2 separate regions of the Homo sapiens genome follow, and region 2 is linked to region 1. The links are contacts of gene promoters, found by promoter capture Hi-C in blood cells and fetal thymus (Javierre and others, 2016). All regions are on one chromosome and are shown on one strand. The core of a region is centred on a gene start or on the middle of the fragment in contact, and the rest is flanking DNA. Distances in the headings are between cores, read along the strand shown. Region 1 holds the start of TERF1 (telomeric repeat binding factor 1). Region 2 overlaps LOC107986891 (a long non-coding RNA gene).

What was found. The method cuts DNA at HindIII sites, captures the fragments that hold promoters and counts their contacts. A CHiCAGO score of 5 or more calls a contact.
Region 2: a fragment that was not itself captured here is called in contact with the fragment with the promoter of TERF1 in region 1 in 1 of 17 cell types (naive B cells); the score reaches 6.1 in naive B cells.

What each region holds. Positions count from the first base shown.
Region 1 is chr8:73,007,442-73,010,186 of GRCh38, forward strand. It overlaps TERF1 (telomeric repeat binding factor 1), which reads left to right and starts at 1,423. Exons shown (of 10, transcript NM_017489.3): 1 at 1,423-1,764. The coding sequence starts at 1,446. RefSeq lists silencers at 1,189-1,288, 1,319-1,368. The HindIII fragment of the contact is 9,695 bases long and covers 1-2,745 here.
Region 2 is chr8:73,180,451-73,183,195 of GRCh38, forward strand. All of the region lies in intron 2 of LOC107986891 (a long non-coding RNA gene), which reads right to left. Among named protein-coding and RNA genes, the nearest start is that of C8orf89, 78 kb to the right of the region's middle. The HindIII fragment of the contact is 1,404 bases long and covers 625-2,028 here.

The DNA.
Region 1 (2,745 bases), core at 173-2,672:
TTTCTCCATGTTGAGGCTGGTCTCGAACTCCTGACCTCAGGTGATCCGCCCGCCTCAGCCTCCCAAAGTGCTGGGATTACAGGTGTGAGCCACTGCGCCCGGCTGTTTTAAACTCTTTACATTTACCAAGCCCTTTAATCGTGCAGGTATTATTATTATTCACATTATACGGACAAGAAAACTGACACGTAATTTACCCAAGGTCACACAGCTAGTGAGTAACTGGTAGGGAATATTCCAACCTAAGCATTCTTAATACTAGAATACAGTGCCTTAGTTACTCAACACTTAAACTGTACCACCTTAAAGACAATAACAAGAAGTGTGTGAAAATGTGGAAAGGCTTTGATGATGCTGGATGCGTTATAAACAGAAAGGCTTTTAAAATAAACTTTTTATTCAATTATGACACACATACTGAAAAGTGCATAAACGATGTTCAGTGAATTTTCATAAAGTGAACCCACATCAAGGAACAGAAAACGGAGCCAGGCGTTGTGGCTCAGGCCTGTAAACCCAGCACTTTGGCAGGAGGATAACTTGAAGCCAGGAGTTGGAGACCAGCCTGAGCAACAGAGCGAAATCCTGTCTCAAAGGAAAAAAAAAAAACAAACAAAAAACAAAAACAATAACCAGACCACCCATCCCCATTTAGAATTTCTTTTTGTGCTAAGTTTCAAAATTCAAAATAAGCATTCACTTGTTTTCTACAAACTGCATTCTATAGTCGATCTCAAACCTTGATTGAGATACATTTCCATTATAGTATACTCTTTCTAGAGCACTGATCTCAAAATGTGGTGCCCAGCCAAGTAGCGTTGGACTTTCAAATTCAAGGATCCCAAGCTAGACCAGCAGAACAGGAATTCTGGGAGTGGAGCCCGGCAATTTGTGTTTTAGCAAGCCCCCAGGCTGATTCTGATGCATCTTAAGGTTGGAGAAGCATGGATATTGTCAGTTGTAATAGTTGTTGTTCGTGATCACGTAGTAACTGTTAGATGAAAACTAGGGTTTAAAAGTGTTACGCTTGTCTAATAGTGACAAGTTCTCATTACCCATCTCTTTCTGAAATAGGCTGCAGGCAAATGCGTTTTCATTTTAAATAACCGTGTTGTTGTTCCAGTCAAGGTTGCATTTTACAAGGAATAAGGAAGATAAAGCTGCCTCCTCCTATCCTAATCTCGCTCCTCGCTCAGTATGGAGTCGTCCGGTTTACCTACAAAGCCCTGCCCTAGACTGGCGGCAAATTCAACGCCCAGAGGCAGGAACAGGTGTCGGCCAATCAGAAGCCGGAACAGGTGTCGGCCAATCAGAAGCCAGGCTTGAACCGCTCGCCCATGTCCCGCCGGCGGAAGAGACTCTCCGCGGCCACGCCCCGAGCCCTCGAATGCGAGCCAATCGTTGCTCGGCGCCTGAAGGGGCAGTACCCAAGCGAGCCATTTAACATGGCGGAGGATGTTTCCTCAGCGGCCCCGAGCCCGCGGGGCTGTGCGGATGGTAGGGATGCCGACCCTACTGAGGAGCAGATGGCAGAAACAGAGAGAAACGACGAGGAGCAGTTCGAATGCCAGGAACTGCTCGAGTGCCAGGTGCAGGTGGGGGCCCCCGAGGAGGAGGAGGAGGAGGAGGAGGACGCGGGCCTGGTGGCCGAGGCCGAGGCCGTGGCTGCCGGCTGGATGCTCGATTTCCTCTGCCTCTCTCTTTGCCGAGCTTTCCGCGACGGCCGCTCCGAGGACTTCCGCAGGACCCGCAACAGCGCAGAGGGTGAGTGCAGACCGCGTCCGGGCCGGGACTACGCGGGGGGCGGATGCGGGCTCCGTGGTGCGCGGCAGAGGGCTGGTTCCCTACGTCGCCGAGGGAGGGGCTGCTGCGGCCGATTAGCTGGGAGTCCGAGGCTCCGGGCTGAACTTTGTTCGAATCCCGGTTCGCCCGTTGTCAGCACCTGAGTTTTTCTCAGATTGATTTCCTCTTCGATAAAATGAAAATAAGACCCTGTTTAGGTTTGATGCAAGCATTAAATGAGTTAAAATGTATACAGTTCCACTCAACCCAGTACCTTTGTCTCTTTTGGCGCTTTCTACTCAGGTATTCCTGTAGTAATATTCAGCAGTCCCTGTGGCCTCCAGTAACCCCCGAGGCATCAGTGTTTTATGTTAATTTGTGAGCTATTAAATCTCATTTGGCCTGCTGGCTCTACAGCAGTTACTTTTATTCTGTGTAGTCTCAGAATAAAAGTAAATGTTGGCCACATGCCTGCAAGTCCCAGCTACTTGGGAGCCTGAGGTGGGAGGATCGCTTGAACCCAAGAGGCAGAGGTTGCAGTGAGTCGAGATCGTGCCACTACAGTCCTGCCTGGGTAACAGAGTGATACCCTGTATGAATAAATAAATGAATGAATGAAACTGTTCATGAAATCTGCTGCACCCCGCCCCCGTCCCAAGATGGGGTCTCACTGTCACCCAGGCTGGAGAGTGTAGTGGCGCCATCACAGCTCACTGCAGGCTCGACCTCCTCAGGCTCAGGTATCCTCCCGCTTCAGCTTCTGGAGTAGCTGGGTCTGCAGGCGTGCACCACCACCCGCAGCTGTAAGATTACAGGTATGAGCCACCGCGCCTGGCCTAGTGTAGCTTTTTGAAAAACAACAGAAAGATGTTCTGGTACTTCATTCATAGTTGGCGCTAAAATTACTGTGCAAGTATATATTTATAATACTATAATTATGCTATTTAATAGAATTCTTAGACA
Region 2 (2,745 bases), core at 77-2,576, 170 kb after region 1:
GAGAGAGAGAGAGAGAGAAAGAAAGTGATTGCTGGCATCCCCAGATCTACACCATCCAAATTCAGCAAGCTTCTTGAAAAGACAGCGTCTCTTTCCTACCATCCTGGAAACGTGACTGATTCCCACAGGAGGATTTTTATTGGCCACAGCTGGGTCGAGCTCCAGGGAAATGGGATTCTCTGATTTGCTGACCCAGGCCATGAATCCATGCCTTTATGACCAGGCATGGGAGTCCACTTCCAAAAGAAGGGAAACAGGAGAAAACTTGCTAGAAAACCAAAAACAATAACTATACAACCCACTCAAATTGATTTTAAAAATTTTTAATTAAATGCCTTTATTTAATGTTACTTTACTCAATGAAAGCAAGCATTTACACACTCAAATGGTAGGTATTTGGTTAAGCAGCTCTTGAGGTCCCTCTAAAGAACCCTGAATCTATCAAGCAAGAAAATGTTCCCACTTTTCTGGCAAGGGTTTATAGGGTTTCTGAGTATTTACAGAAAACAAAACCTTTCTTCCCTCCCCTTTCTCTACAGTCTATGTTCCAAACCACAAAGAGAAAGGAATCATTCATCCCTGTGCATGGGTTAATTAAGCAGAAAACTTTTTCCAAGGGTAGGAAGCTTGGTATTAGATAGAAAGAAAAAAAGAATGAGAAATGCTTTTGGAGTTTCTGGAGAAGAGAAGGAGAAATCATATGGTGGTGGGAGGTGAAAAGATGTCAATGGCAACGCCATCTATTTCTAAATTTTCCCTGAACAGGAGACCAAATGCTTAGGGGTTCTCTGAGTCTATCTGTTGGGACAAGCTGAGAGAGACCAGTTAACTTCAACAATACTCACTTTTGCAGAGTGGAATCCAGGGCAAGTAGGCAAAGATGCACCTATAGCCAGTACTTAGAAGGTGACAAGGAAGGTGATCCTTGAAAGCAGAAATCCGATTGCCCTGCAGGAGCAGATGGTGGTTGGAAGATAAACCCGCAATGTCTGTGATTAGCCAGCTGAGAAAGCTCAGAAAATGTCTGCCTAAAGATGGGCTCAGATATGGCTTAGGAATATCTAAGGGGATTTGTCCACCCAGAGAGAAAGAGGAACTTAAATTACTTGTATTGCAACCCATCTGAAGATAGAATATGACCACAGTGTAAGGGAAGAAAAATAATTTTTTCTCTACCTTTCTGAGTTTGTAGCTCGGATGGACCCCTGTAGCAAAAGACAGATTAACAAGAGAAAAACAAACAAATTTATTAGCATGTATATTTCATATATACATAGGAGATCCCAGGAAATGAGAAATTCTCAAAGTATCTTAGAACTCTGGTTTTATATGGCATTTTTAACAAAGAAGAGCAAATTGTTAGAGAAGTAACCAAAGGAAAAGTACTGTGAGTCTCTAGGGTTAGCAAATTGAGGGAAGGCGAGGAAATGGGAATTTGTCATGTGGATTCTTCGGTGCCATCTCCAGGATGAGAAGGATCTAAAGTTGCCTTCAGTGAACAACCTTTGTTCTTTCTGGTAGAGAGGTAACGATGGACATCATAGTCTTGGTAAATTTATGTCTTGCTTTTAGGCTAATGGGGTAGAGCAGAGACCTTTTCTTATATCTGCTTCTTCTCGATTGCCTTCAGCTCAAAATAACTTTTATGCCAAAGTGGCGTATCTTAGGGTGACATGTTCTGGTCTTCTGCAACAGACAGAGGCTACAGATGCCTGCCTGGCATCCTGAAGAGGGAGAAAGAGAGTGAGAGTCGGTCAGGCTGTTTCCAGCCAAATAGATGCTGGAGAGGGAGCCAGCCATGCAGTTACACTCCAGGATGCACGGCTGAGTTCGTGTCCCGGCATATTTTCTCCTTGTCACTGAAGCCCCAGCTGCCTAGAGTATTTTATCATATGTAAGTCGTGCCATTATTTTATGTACCACAAAGAAGAAACATTTATGCCAATTACACTGCATCATAATGCTTTCCTTTCACTTTGACTTTTAATCATTTTACACTTATTTTGACATAGATTTTATTCTACATCAAGCTTGTACATAAATGAAAAGAAAAATATAACTGAAATAAAATGGCTGCAATAATTCCTAAAACTTCTTCAAATTCAATGTCTGATTCTTCTGAATCATTTTTAGACTGTCTTTGGTGTCTGTATTTTTCCTGCACAATATCATCCTGTGTACCTTCAACAATGTTTGTAATACAGCACCTTTAAAAAAGAATTTAAAATATATGCTATATATATATATTTTAAATTAACTTATTTACTCTCATTCCTTTGATTTCTAAAGGGAAGATAACCTCAGTAGCTTGTTTCCCTAGCCTTTCCTTTTATTTGCCCCTTTGGATATGAAAAACCTGTTCTGAATTATATATTATATATAATATATATGTTATATATAAAATATATATATTCCAATAGAAATTTGAAATTTGATCTGTTTATTAGATATTAGGATATTGATATTAAATTTCTTGGGTGTGATAATACTATACCCTAGAAGAATGTTCTTATTCTTAAAAGATACGTGCTGAAGTGTTTAGCAGTGAGGTGTCATGCTATTTGCATATTACTTTCATATGATTCAGCAAACAAACATACAAACAAAATGCCCAAAGAAACATAAAGAGTGATGAGTAAAGGAAATGCCTTCAAAATGATATCAACAGGAAAATCTAGATAAAGGATATACAGGTATTCATGGAACTATTTTTTAAATTGTTCTTTAAGCTTAAGGTTTTCCAAA